Linked DNA regions of Homo sapiens: regions 1, 3 and 4 are each linked to region 2. The links are contacts of gene promoters, found by promoter capture Hi-C in blood cells and fetal thymus (Javierre and others, 2016). All regions are on one chromosome and are shown on one strand. The core of a region is centred on a gene start or on the middle of the fragment in contact, and the rest is flanking DNA. Distances in the headings are between cores, read along the strand shown. Region 1 has its middle 22 kb from the start of CHIT1. Region 2 holds the start of FMOD (fibromodulin). Region 3 overlaps LOC124904486 (a long non-coding RNA gene). Region 4 has its middle 13 kb from the start of PRELP.

What was found. Contacts are between HindIII fragments. The CHiCAGO score rates a contact against its expected background, and 5 or more counts as called.
Region 1: a contact is called between a fragment that was not itself captured here and the fragment with the promoter of FMOD in region 2, in 5 of 17 cell types (total CD8 T cells, activated CD4 T cells, naive CD4 T cells and 2 more). The highest score is 5.6, in total CD8 T cells.
Region 3: a contact is called between a fragment that was not itself captured here and the fragment with the promoter of FMOD in region 2, in 2 of 17 cell types (naive B cells and total CD8 T cells). The highest score is 5.6, in naive B cells.
Region 4: a contact is called between a fragment that was not itself captured here and the fragment with the promoter of FMOD in region 2, in 8 of 17 cell types (naive B cells, M1 macrophages, total B cells and 5 more). The highest score is 9.5, in naive B cells.

The regions. Positions count from the first base shown.
Region 1 is chr1:203,249,688-203,253,122 of GRCh38, reverse strand. No RefSeq gene overlaps it. Among named protein-coding and RNA genes, the nearest start is that of CHIT1, 22 kb to the right of the region's middle. The HindIII fragment of the contact is 166 bases long and covers 1,309-1,474 here.
Region 2 is chr1:203,348,896-203,352,475 of GRCh38, reverse strand. FMOD (fibromodulin) reads left to right here and starts at 1,354. Exons shown (of 3, transcript NM_002023.5): 1 at 1,354-1,443. The HindIII fragment of the contact is 3,247 bases long and covers 1-1,722 here.
Region 3 is chr1:203,268,073-203,271,620 of GRCh38, reverse strand. LOC124904486 (a long non-coding RNA gene) reads left to right here. Exons shown (of 2, transcript XR_007066798.1): 2 at 1-3,548. Among named protein-coding and RNA genes, the nearest start is that of LINC01353, 17 kb to the left of the region's middle. The HindIII fragment of the contact is 1,041 bases long and covers 1,509-2,549 here.
Region 4 is chr1:203,461,531-203,465,012 of GRCh38, reverse strand. No RefSeq gene overlaps it. Among named protein-coding and RNA genes, the nearest start is that of PRELP, 13 kb to the left of the region's middle. The HindIII fragment of the contact is 5,337 bases long and covers 1-3,482 here.

The sequences.
Region 1 (3,435 bases), core at 142-2,641, 99 kb after region 2:
GTTATGTTTCACGTAATTGCAATGGTTACCACAAAGACAGTAACTATAGAATGTAAGTGCTATGATTTGAATATGGTTTATCCCCCACTGAAATTCATGTTAAGGCTTGTTCCCCATGTAATGGTGTTGAGAACTGGTGGGACCTTTAAGAGGCATTTGGGTCATAAGCCATCTGTCCTTATGAAGGGATTAATGCCATTTCACAGGAGTGAATTATTGCTCTTCAGTGACTGGATTAGTTACCGCAAGAGTGGGTTGTTATAAAGTGAGGTCACCCCTCATGTTTTCTCTCTTGTGTGTGTACCCGCTCAGTGCTCTCACATGCATAACCACCATGTGATGCCATCCTCCATGTTATGACACAGCATGAGACCCTCGTCAGATGCAGCTGTTTGATCTTGAACTTCCCAGCATCAAGAACTGTGAGCTAAACAAACCTCTTTTTAAAAAATAAATTACCTGGTCTCAAGTATTCTGTTACAGCAACAGAAAATGGACAAAGACTGTAAAGGAAAGGAAGTGAGAAGGGAATCAAAATCTGTGGCCACAAAAAAAAATTAATGAAACACAAAAGAAATTATCAAAAGAAAAAAGGGGGGGGGGACAAAGAAAGCTACAAGTGAAACAGAACACAATGAACAAAATGGCAACAGTAAGTCCTTCACTATCAGCAATTTCTTAAAATGTAAATGCCATTATGAGCAATTATATGCCAACAATTGGATTTGGCAATAATTTCTTGGATATGATACCAAAAGCACAGGCAACAAAATAAAAAATAGACAAATAGTACTACATAAAACTTAAGTTTTTTTACACATCAAAGTAACAGTCAACAGAGAGAAAAGGCAACCTATGGAATGGGAGAAAAGAGTTGCAAGTCATATATCTGATAAGGGGTCAATATCCAGAATATATAAGGATCTTGTACAACTTAACAACAAGAAAAACCCCAAATAATCCAATTTAAAAACTGGCAAAGGATTTAAATAGACATTTCTCCAAAGAAGATATATGAATGGTTATTAAGTACATGAAAATATGCTCAACATCATTAATCACTAGGGAAATGTAAATAAAACTCACAATGAGATATCACCTCACACCCATCAGGATAGCCATTATAAAAATAACAGGAAATAACAAGTGTTGACAAGGATGCAGAGAAGTTTGGGTCCTCATGCACTGGTGGTGGGAAAGTAAATTATACAGATGTTATGAAAAACAGTATGGAGTTTCTCAAAACATTAAAAATAGAACTATCATATGATCCAGCAATCCCCCTTTTGGGTATATAGCCAAAAAGCTTCAAAGCAGATCTCAGAGATATTTGCACACCCATGTTCATTGCAGGATTATTCACAATAGCCAACAGGAGGAAATAACAGGTAATTGGATAAGAAAATGTGGTATATGCACATAATGGAATTTTATGTGCCCTTAAAAAAGGGCATGTTACAACATGAATGAAGCTTAAGGACATTATGCTAAGTGAAATAAGCCAGTCACAAATGGACAAATACTGTATAATTCACTCATATAAAGTATCTAAATAAGTCAGAATCCTCAAAACATAAAGTAAAAAGGTAGTCGCCAAGAACTTGCGGGAGGTGGGATGGGGAATTCATGTTTGGTAGGTATAGAGTTTCAGTGTTGCAAGAAGAAAAATTTCTAGAGACTTGTTGCACAAGTGAATATACTTAACAGTACTGAAATGTACATTTAAAAATGTTTAGGATGGTTTAATGTTGTGTGGTTTTTACCACAATACAAAAAAAAAGACTCAGCTAAGAAAACGAACAGGCAAAACCAAAGGCTGGTAGAAAACATTCACAGTACATATATCTGAATATGGATTTCTATCCAGAATAATAAAGAACTTCTAACACAATAAAAATGTGGATGACAGACTTGAGCAACATTTTCAGAAGCAAACAAAGACATATGAATGGACAAAGACATATAAAAAAAGTGCTCGACATCATTACTCAGCAGGCAAAGGCAAATTAAAGCCATAATGAATCACTACATGCCTACTAGAATGTCTAAAATTATAAAGACTGTCAACACCACATGTTGGCAAGCATTTGACATAACAAAAACTCTCACGTTGCTCTTGGATGTGTGAAATGGCACAATTACTTTGAAAAGTTGCTTGCTTGGTAGCTTCTTATTAAACATAAAGCTAGCTGATGACTCTAATTTTACACCTGTGTATTTATTCAAAGTAAATGAAAACATATGTCCACGAAGAGACGTATACATAACTGTTCATAGAAGCTTTGCATTTCTGATAGCCAAAACTGGAAATAACCCAATGTTTATGAAGTGGGATATATTCATAAAATACAATACTTCTTGCAATTAAAAGAAACAGACTACTGATAACAACAAAATGGATGAGTCTCAAAAACTTTATGCTGACTGAAACAAGCCAACATTAAAGAGCTCTCGGTGGCCAAAGCTGGAAAAATTTGAGCAGCAAAATAAATAATGTACTAATAGTATTTGATTATAACTCAAAACATAAATAAATATCTATGAGTCCATATGGATATAAATAAATGATATAGTAAATAAATGGGAGAGAAGGGACAAATGTCCCATACAGAATTATATAATAAAGGTATGTAGTTGCTTCTTCCCCAAGGAAGTGGAGCTTAACTCCTCACCCCTAGAGTGTGGGCTGCACTTACTGACTCGCTTCCAAAGAGTAGAATAGGGAAGCCAGGTGGAGAAGTAGAAACCTGGCAAATAGTATCCCGGCCTGGTAATCAAGATTAAAAAGATCAGTTATGTGGATAATACCTACCTTTTAGTTTTAGTTTTTTGAGACAAGGTCTCACTCTGTCACCAGGCTGGAGTGCAGTGGTAAGATTTCTGTTCACTGCAACCTCTGCCTCCTGGGTTCAAGCGATTCTCCTGCTTCAGCCTCCCAAGTGGCTGGGATTACACGTGCATGCCACCATGCCTGGCTAATTTTTGTATTTTTAGTAGAGACAGGGTTTCACCGTGTTTGCCAGGCTGGTCTCCAACTCTTGACCTCAAGTGATCTGCTTGCCTTGGCCTCCCAAAGTACTGGGATTACAGGCGTGAGCCACCACACCCAGCCTGGGGTGAGATTTTTATTCTATTCTTTAGAAGAATTTGAGAAAGTTTGGCATTTGGTAGAATTTGCCTATGAATCCACTTGGCCAGGCTGGTCTCGAACTCCTGACCTCAAGTGATCCCCCCAACCTTGGCCTTCTAAAGTACTAGGATTGCATGTGTGAGTCATTGCATCCAGCAGATAATACCTACATTTTTAATGAGATGTAATGAGGATGGCACTTCACCTCTGTGGTTTACCTCCCCAAAACATAGAACCCCTATCTAACCATGAAGAAAACACTAGACAAGCCAAAATTGAAGGACATTCTACAAAATACCTGACTA
Region 2 (3,580 bases), core at 105-2,604:
GTAAATTAGATCCCATGCAAATCAGATCCCATGGCTTCTCCTGCTTGAAACATGTTTTTTTTTTTAAACATTTAGAATAGGCCGGACCGGATGACGCACGCCTGTAATCCCAGCACTTTGGGGCACTGAGGTGGGTGGATCACCTGTGTTTAGGAGTTCAAGACCAGCCTGACCAATATGATGAAACCCTGTCTCTACTAAAAATACAAAAAATTAGCTGGGCGTGGTGGCGTGTGCCTGTAGTCCCAGCTACCCAGGAGGCTGAGGCAGGAGAACGGCTTGAACCTGGGAGGCGGAGGTTGCAGAAAGCAGAGATTGTGCCACTGCACTCCAGCCTGGGCGACACAGCGAGACTCCTTTTCGATCTCCTGACCTCATGATCCTCCTGCCTCGGCCTCCCAAAGTGCTGGGATTACAGGCATGAGCCACCACGCCCAGCTGAGACTCCTTCTCAAACAAACAAACAACAACAACAACAACAAAAACATTTAGAATAAAAACCAAATCACTTCCATCGCCCAAAAGTCCTTTCATGGTACAGCTCCTGCCCAGCTTTCTGATCTTGTCTTTCCCTGGCTGAGGAATTCTATGGCTGTGAAATGGGTAGGACACAGTGAACCTCAGCTATGTGCCAGGTCAGGAGCCTCCCACACATCACCTGATACAGTCCTTGCTACAACCCAGCAAGGTAAGTGTTATTAACTCTGAATTTGTTGTGAGCATTAAGTGGAAGTGGATGATGCTAGTGCATAAGCAGTGATCAGCAAATGCTGGAGTCCCTGCCTTTCCTTTTGTTCCAGTGGTGGAGGTGGGCAGGACCTGTAGCCTAGAAAAGTCTACACTGCTTAGGGATAGAACTGGAACCAGAGCCGGCTGTCCCTTGTCATTCATGCTCCCTTATCCACTAGCCTGATGACCTGTCTATAGGGGGAGCTGAGAAGCGCGAGTTCTCGCTCTCTGGAGGGACATGTGGGTTGCTGAAGGAGTTAAGATGTCTCTTACCAAACCCTGGCCCTCCCCATCCCTGCATCTGCCTTTGTGGCTTTAATGAGAAATCCAGGCGCTTCATAAGAGACTGTACAAATAACTTCTAGGGCGCCACTAACTCATTCAGCAGAAAGGGACCCAGGGCTGCCAATGTTTCAGGGAAGATAAGTGAGTGGAAAAAAGGTGGTTTTTATAGCGTCAGGCGGACCGAAGGATTTGCGTGGTTGAGCGTGAACTCCGCCCCTGCAGCAGAGCTGAAAAAAACCAGGATCCGGGTTCCTCAGCCCCTTTTCACAATATTTGATTAGGAATTTGGGGCGGGACCCTGGTCTGGCACAGGCACGCACACTCTCAGTAGACTCTTTCACTCCTCTCTCTCTTCCTCTCTCACACGTTCTCCAACCCAAGGAGGCCAGACAGAGGGACGTGGTCACTCTCTGAAAAGTTCAACTTGAGGTAAGTATAGTCGTTTTACTTCGGGTTTGTCCCTAGCAGTTCCTTAAAAGAAATAAAGGAAAAGTGGTAGGGGATAGGGGAGATGGGGAGGCAGGGAGGGTTCATTCCTCCTTCTCCACATCTGGGCCATGACCCCAGGGATGCTGGAGAGTGGCAGAGAGGGTGTATAAGGGAGGGGTTCCAGCCCTGTACCTTTCTCTTACAGTTCCTTTATGGGTGCTGAGGGGACCTCCAATTCTCAGGCATGAAAAAGTGAAGGACCCTCTGTCTAGGGAAGCTTCTTCCCTGCTACTCATAAATCCCATCATGCTGGGAGTGTGGGCATTTTGAAGGGTATTCCAAGACCTGGATGTCCCTGCAATCTCTCTTATAGAGGGGTTTGGTACATAAATGCTATTATGGGAGAGGGGGAAACTTTTGTGTAGAATGTGTGTGTGTGTGTGTGTGTGTGTGTGTTTGGAGTGGAAAGGAGAGAATAAAAAGAAGCATTGAGAACTGGCCATGTCCAGGGAGCTGTGGATTGGGGTGGGGATGCAATCCAGGTGAGGGGATGGCCTCTGGCTTGACCTTCTCCACTGATAGGAGGGAGAGATCTTTCTCTAGAGTGGAGAAATGAAAGAACAGCAGTAGCTCCTGAGTAAACTTCCCCCAGCTGATAGTGTGGCAGTCCTGGAAACTTTCGACCTTACAGAAACTCTGAGCACAGGAGGGCCTCTAGCATTATGGGAAACAGTGTAAGACTATGCAACCCTGAAGCAACATTGCTAAGAGATGGGATGGGGTAAGGAGAGGCATAAGCTCCCCATCAAACCCTTTCAGCACCCATGGCTCTAAGAAGAGGCTGAAGTGGGCAGGGTGCACAGCCCCTAGAAAGCTGAGTCTGAAGGGGAAGGTGGCTCTTGTCTGCCAAGGTGCCCAGTCTGAAAGAAGGAGAAACGGAGACAGAGGCTCACTGTGCCAGCCCTCCAGACAGCCACCTTGGTCCTGCAACAGCCCAGGGCTGTGCATGGAAAAATGCTCTGTTGGCAGTGGGCCGCTCCATTCGTCTTCTCTCCTGGCCAGAGCCAGGAACCAGCCAGCTTGCCCAGGCAGTGGGCAGTTGGGTCAGCTTCTCCAAAACACTGTGGCTCTTTGTCTGAGGCCTGAGGCTGCCTGTGGATGAGCCAGGGTGCCTGCTCCTCTGCAACCTAGGAACTGATGGGATGAAGTGGGCCCAAGGAAACTGTTTTGAGGGGACAGAGAGGTCTGGGATGGATGGTGGTCAGGAGGTAACTCTGTTGAGTGTCATAGTTGGGGTCTTTCCCATCAGTTCACTGGATCTGATGATGTTGGCTTTTATACTCCTTTCTTTCTTCTGTTTACAGTTGCCAACCCCAGTAGGCCCAACAGCAATGTGAGGGCTGTATGTGACTCTTCCAGGCCAAGAAAGATTCTAAGGTTTCTCTGTCCAAGGGTGACACTCAGGAAGATGCCCACTGCTCACAGGAGTATGTCATGCATTGGCTATAGGTAACCAGGGTAGGGTACCCAGGCCACCCCTAGTCTCTTACCTTCCATACCTTTAGTTTCCCTCTCAGATGACATCAGACCCACATTTCCTCTTCAGTCTGCCCTGTTCCTATCTCATTAGCACAACAGGTTCAAAAGCAACAGGTTTCCAGCAATGTGGGGACCTAGACACAGAGCCTGGTCATCTAGGTGTCATCGCTGGGAGCAGGTAGCTTGGGAAAGGAGAGGAGAATGTCAGGGTCCTACCTCAAGCTGCTTTCCCTTGAGCATACACAAGAGTTTCCAATCTCTAGCTATTCTTTTGGTGTCCCTCATTCATTTCTCTTGGCCCCACATGGCTCTTGCATGATGCCCATGGTGGAGCATGAGGAGTGCTAACACCTTACTAGGCACCATGGAAGAGAGAAGCAGATTAACTCAGACTTCACACACTGAGTACCTGCTTTAGAAGGCAAGTGCCACACCCAGTGCCAGGGTCCTCAGTCTGGAAAGGATTTGTAACTGCTGCATGAAGACCCTGTCCCAGCCAAGTTGCATGTGTAGCCACAAACTGCTAACCAGTGAGTTTCCTCACTCAGCAGACTGTTACAGATGATGGCACTTTGGAGGGCAACCTGAGCCTTGTGGT
Region 3 (3,548 bases), core at 780-3,279, 82 kb after region 2:
TCTGGTAAGAAGTTACAGGGTGATCCTGTGAGTTTGCATAGAGAAAGCACTCAGACACGGGCTGCAGGAACTGTGGCCACATTTGAGAGCACTTGAGCTACTGCCACACACTTCAGAATATCTGGAGGCAGGAACAGAGAAGGGGAGGTTGTGCATAGTATATTCCAGGCTCTGTGCTAGATCCTTTGCATCGGAGGCTTCAGTTAATACAAATTGTTTGTTGTAAGATAGCATTATCTCCAAGCCTAGAGAGGCCATGAGACTTGCCCGAGGCCAGAATCTAGTGTGGTAGAAGCTGCTAGTCTCCAATAACTTTCTACTATTTTATCAGGGTAAGAAAAGTTGTAGCAGGAAACATGGCTGCCCAGAATGAAGACTGCATTTCCCAGTCTCCTGTGTGGGTAGGCGTGGTCACATGACTGAGTTCTGGCCAAAGAGAAGTAAGTAGACGCGTTATGCAGCAGTGTCTGGGAACCTTTCTTAAGACACAGGTTGTGCATCTGCTGTCTGCTCCTTCTTCTTTGTCCCTCCCTCTGTTTTGCTACTTGGTAGGCAGGTGCTACCTTGTACCATGAGGGCAAGGGCCACTCAATAACAACACAATTGCTGCTGTTGTGAATTTTCTGTTACTCTCATTTCTACCTCATCTTAACTGAGATGCCCTGTGATAGAGTGGGGGATTTGAACCTGAGTCAGTCAGCTGTTTCTCAACACAATGCGAGGTTTCTGGGTCCCCTGTGTGCTCCTGCTGTACCTCATCAGCTCTTAGGTGTGAAGCATCCCTTAGAACTCTGATGAGGTGGCGTTGAAGGAGGGGAGCCACTCTAATGCAGCTTTTCGAACTCATCCATTCCAAAGATGGCTCAGGGCCTTTGCTAGATCCAGAGGCAGCTTGAGGGCGAAAGTCCAGGGCCCTGAGAGGGTGGAAGAGGTGACACTTCTAAGATCCAGGAAACCCCAGCCTCTGCCACAAGACTGGCTGCACAGCTACCCCTGTGGCAGGTGAAGGCAGTGCTCAGGTAGTCCTGGGACTCTTTCTAAACTTCTCTGGCCTGGCCCTCAATGTCCTCTGACAGACTCTAGCTTGCTGGGACACCTCTAAGGAAACTGCCAAGGGAACTGCAGAAGCAGGAGCAGGTGAGAAGTGCCCGGGTGTCTTCTTTCCATGGGGGAATTTGGAGAAGCATTCTGAGCCCAGCAAAGTGTCAGGCAGGCAAGGTAAGGCCTCACCTGATAGGAGGTGTATCCTCGTACCTAGTCTCAGCAAGGAAGGTTGCCAGCTTCATGGCTCTTTTGAGTTAAAAGGGCTGTAAGATCCTTGGTAAACGACCAGAGCCTGAATGTCACAGGGAAGAGGTTGGACTGGGACCCAATACAGCTGCCTATGTATCTGAGAAGACGCTATTTATAAACAGAGAAGGTATTTATTGGCTGGACAATCCTGAGGAAGTCTCCCACTTCTCACTCTCATTCATAAAGTGGGGATCATGATCACTACCTCTCAAGCTTACTGTAACATTGAATGAGGTAATGAATATGAAAACACTCAAAATCTATAAAGTATCTACAAACCTGGAAGATTATAATTCTGCATTTGTACAGTAGAAATAACAGTACCATGGTTGCTATTAGTGCCCAGCCAAATCCCCTTTACTGGTCTGGTGCAACCCTCCATCCCTGCCCACCGGCTGCTGTGAGGTTTGGCTGGTAACAGTTCACAGTTATTCCCTCTGCAGAGACTTCCCCGGGAATGGAAGCTGCCTTACTTGGGGCTTGCAGCCGATGCTTGTCTGACACAGGGGCAGGAAAGGCCAGTCCCCGACCTCAAGACAAGATGAACTCTGGTGTAGCACATGCTTCAGGGATCCCCATGAAATCAGGCCGCAGCTCAGCCACAGCTGACACCACAGCCTGGCTCCCTCCTTCCCCACCCCACTCTCCTTCCTTTTCTTTCTTCTGAGGGTTCTTCCCCAACAGAAGAAGATATGCATGAAATCTGTCCCAGGCTCTGCTTTTAAGGAATCTGGTCCACTTGTCTGCCGTACAAAGTTGCTATGAGGGTTAAATAATATAATACAGATGAAGAGATTAGCCCAGTGCCTGGCATATACAGTGCATATCCAATTAATGTTAAAGATTGCCATTATCCATGAGACTGGAGCATCAGGAACATCTTAGTGTAATAGTGAGGTGTGGAAATCTGGTGAGTGAGTCAGTGGATTGAATTTTACATGCTTAGGGACTGGGGTGGGCAGAGAGAAGGGCAGCTGGGTTTCCTTGGGTATCACTGGTTGTCTCAGCTTTGGGCAGTGAGGGTCCTTTACACAGCTAGGGAAAAGTTCCAGTCATTACATACTTCTACCAGCAGAGGACGCCACTTCCATACAAATAAGTGTTTCCTCTGCTATCTGATGCAGTTTTCATCAAAGCAGTCTAGGCTGGCAGGAAAGATCAGGTACATGACAGAGCAGAAAGTGCCTTCAGATTTGCACAGATAATAGGAGAGGGCAGAACAGGAAGAAACAGTGAGTTAAGCTGTTCAGGAAGCTTCGTGGGAGGTGAGGCCTTGAGCAGGGCACTCTAGCACCAGAAGGAGTATTGAGTGGAGATGGCATTCCCAGGGAAGCCACTACCCTAGGCAAGGTGACCAGGGCCTGAGCCAGGGCCGTGGCAGGGAGGCAGCCACGAGAGGGTATGAAGGACACCAAACACAGGGACAGGACTGATTTCAGCTGAGAGGTCTAGGAGGAGATCATGGGCCCACCAACATGGGGTAGACGTCAGGAAGGAGCACGTTTTTATAGGACAGAGCACACTTCTCCAACTGGTTTGACTGCCCTGTTACAATGTCCTCTGCAAGCCATCATTCTGTAGGATTCCTGTTTTGTGTGGATTCTAGAAACCAGTGAAATATTCAGAGGTGTTAATAGCATCAAGATTTCATTGGTTCTTTCCATTCTTTTTATTTTTATTTTTTGAGATGGGGTCTCAGTCCCTGCCCCAGGCTGGAGTGCAGTGGCACCATCACAGCTCACCACAGCCTCAACACCCCAGGGCTCAGGCGATCCTCCTGCCTCAGCCTCCTGAGTAGCTGAGACCATAGGTACGTACCACCATGCCTGGCTAATTTTACATATATACACATATATGTGTGTATATATAATTATATACGTATATATACACATATATACATATATAATTATATACATATATACATATATACACACACATATATGTGTATATATATACACACATATATATGTATATATACACATATGTATATGTGTGTGTGTGTGTGTGTATATATATATATATATATATATATATATATATTTGAAGAGACAGGGTCTCCTTACGTTGTCCAGACTGATCTTGAACTCCTGGGCTCAAGCGATCCTCCTGTCTCAGTCTCCCAAAGTGCTGGGATTACAGACGTGAGCCACCGCGCCTGGCCAGCTTTTTCCGTTTTGAGTAGAGACGGCAAGAAGCGCCCCACAGCTTGCCCTTGCTTCGGAACTCGGGGTTGTGAATCAGTCAGGATAGAAATT
Region 4 (3,482 bases), core at 890-3,389, 110 kb before region 2:
CCTAAGACAGAGCAGGGCTCTGGGGCTGGAAACAGTTATGTGAGCAATGGAGCATCCCATCTTGGCCCACCCCAGGTGTGGGGAATTTTCAGGCCCAGTTGAGCCAAGCCACAGAATGAAGGCAAAAAGGCAAAACATGTTTTGGAAGGTGGCTGGCAGCCCCAACTGTCTGCTCCATGGGCCAGGGCTCCATGAAAGGCTGTGGAGTTACCGAAGTGGTGCGGGGCCTGGGGAAAGGCAGCCCAGGACAGTGATGGCTCTGCTTTCTTAGAGACCCTCAGAAATGAAGGCTCTCTACCCCACTGTGCCTCATTCCCCCAGTCATGGTCAGCCTAGCACTTCAAGCTAAAATGACCTTGTTGGGAAGTTCTTCCTTCCATCTACCTTGCCTCTCTCATGCTGGAATTCAGGCTTCTTTCTATTTAGATCCTTGTTGGAAGACAGAGAAGCCCTTTTCCATCTTGAGTGGAATTTGGATTTGAGGACAGCTTTGGGCTCCTTGGAGACAGGTGCTGGGTGAAGGGCAGGTGTTGTCCTTAGCACTATTATGCCATTAGCATTACTCATCTGCCGGGCTCCTGCTGAATGCAGTAGCTCTCCGGGCGGGCAGCCACCCTCCCTCCTGTTTTTTCTGGAGAGAGGGAAAAAAAGGGGAGGTGGGGAGGTGTGGGGAAGTGTGGGCAGAAGGAGGAAGGGAAAGACACAGAGAGATAAGGGGAGCCAGCGACCTCTAAGTCCAGGTTTCTGGTGGGCTCCCGTTGCTGTCTCTATTCACAGGGAGGGTGGGCCAAGGGGAATTTGGTTCCTGAGGCTGTTACACTCTGATTGCTGTGGACCTGAGACCGTTTCCCTCTCTCCTCCTTCCTCCCTCCTCCTCCTCCTTCCTCCCTCTCTGGCTCTTTCTCTTCTTTTCCTCTCCCTGCCTTTTCTTTCTCCCTCCTGTCTTCGTGCCTCCCACTTTTCTCCCATTCCTCCATCTGCCAACCCTTTCCTCCCCTCCGGCTGTGCACTCTAAGCTCCCTCCTTGCTCTCTGCTCCTTCTTCTTCTCTCCTCTGTCTTTGGGCTACTCTAGCGGCTGAGCTTAGGGAGGGGATATGAAATTCATTAGCTGCCACATTGCAGTGGGATTAAATCATTCTGGCAGCTTCTCCGACATCACTCTTCTCTCCATTAGGGCCCTCACAGAGCTACAGGCACCTCCTGGAGCCCTTCAGTCCTGCTCCCTGGTCTGGCCTTGACTCTACTCCAGTTCCTGTTGCCCAGAGCCAGGCCCCATCCCTCATCCGGAGCCCATGGTGGGTGGGCGTGGAGGTGGTTCAAAGCCTGCTCACTCCAGCTTCTCCTCTAGGGGTTTCCCTCCCAGGCTCTAAGCCCTGAATTGGGCGCTGATTTGACCAAGGGAAAGCACCCTTTTTCTTCTTTTCTCCCTTGGCTCCTGAGCCTATCTTCAGGTGCCCTGCTGCCCTCCTGTGGGGGCTTCTGTGCCAGCCCTGCCAGGTCCCTCCACCACCCATCTTTTTCCTCTCTGGTCACTCGGGCCTTTTGCGTGACAGCTTCTGCTCTCACAGAGTCCCCAAGCCACCCTCAGAGGAGTGATCTAAATTACTCAGGCTCCCCCTTTAGAATAAAAGCTCGATGAGGGCTTACAGTATATCCCAGCACCCTGCAGGCCTGGCATTCATTTGACAAACATTTACTGAGCACCTATTATGTGGGTGGCACTATAGTAAGCTCCGAGGGTATAGCTGGGAAGAAAACAGACATCATCCTTGTCCTCCTGAGGTGTTCGGTCCAGTGGAAAATACAGGAATAAACAAACACATAAATGAACATAAGCATATCACAACTGGTGGTGCTATGAAGCAGGGAAAGGACACGTAGTAAGTCCTTAAAGGAATGCATGAATCATGAATTAACTCCACATTTTTTTTTTTTTTTTTGAGACGGAGTCTTACTCTGTCACCCAGGCTGGAGTGAAGTGGCGCAATCTCGGCTCACTGCCACCTCTGCCTACTGATTTCAAGTGATTCTCCTGCTTCAGCCTCCCAAGTGGCTAGGACTATAGGCACATGCCACCACACCTGGCTAATTTTTTTATTTTAGTAGAGATGGGATTTCACCATGTTGGCCAGGCTGGTCTCAAACTCCTGGAATCTTGTGATCCACCTGCCTCGGCCTCCCAATATGCTGGGATTACAAGCGTGAACCACTGTACCCGGCCAACTCCACTTTTTTTTCTATTTCCTTTTCTACTTTGCTTCCAAGCCTGCAGGCTGGTCTGGTCTGTGCCACCTAAAAATATCTCTAATTATATCCTGTCCTAAATTATTCTCCCATTTGTTCCTCTTGTATTATTAGTTTTGTCTCACAATTAATAATACTAATACATTTCCATGCATTAAATGGCTATTATGTGCCAGGCAATATGTTAAGAATCTTAATGTATGGCCTTATTTTGATTTTTATTTCTACTTTAAAGGAAACTGAAACTCAGATTAAATAACCTGTCAAAAGCCACACAGCTAGCACCAGGAGAAGATCCATGTCTTATACTTCTTCACTGCTCCATGGGGCCAGGGGCCCCCAAGATCCCACAAGAGAAGCTGGAGAACCAGGCTGGTGGGGAGTGGGGGACCTGGAGACACAGCCGCTGCTAGTCCAGCAAGAGTGAGGTTGGCACCCTCCCTGCTCCATCAAGGATTCTCCCCTGGTGCCCTCATATACACTCTGGCACCCAAAAAAAAAACTCTGATCTCCAGGCCATGCCACCCACCTCCCAGTGCCCCCACCATCTTCACTTTCATGTTTCCCTGCCTTCCCTCCCTTGCATCAAGGTCTGCCCACAAAAGCAGCAGGAGCAAAGCATTCTGGCTCCTTCTCTTCTTGTAAGATGAGGCTTTCTTTTCTAAGAGGCTTCCCCGGGTTTATCCTATCCATCTTCAACTCGAGCTCCTCGGTTCCTCCAGACCCATTTCCATTTAGCCCTGGATCTATTCTGATAAACAACTCTACCCCACGTGCTACCTACTGACCCATCTTAATAACTATACACGCTCATTAACACTGCATTTATAAAAAGGGGCTTTCCCACCATCTATAATTAGACTCTGGGCTCCACAGGTGGCTGGGATGGTAAACACCACCTAGCCTTTACACTCCCCATCAGGGGTCCACTGCAGGGCCTCTTGCCACTGTATAATTCATTCTGTACCAGAAGCCAGAGTTCTTACTTTTTAAATCAATTTTTAAAAATTATAATTTGCATAGAGTAACAGGTTACAAATAGGTACCCATTTGAAGTATACAGCTTGACAAACTTTGACACATATGTGTATGTATATATACCCATGCAACCACCACCCCAATCAGATGTATTGAAAAATGTTTTAAATTGAGAAAAATTATATATATTTAGGTTATACAACATAATGTGTGTGTATACATAACATACATTATGTTGTATAACCTAAATATATACAGT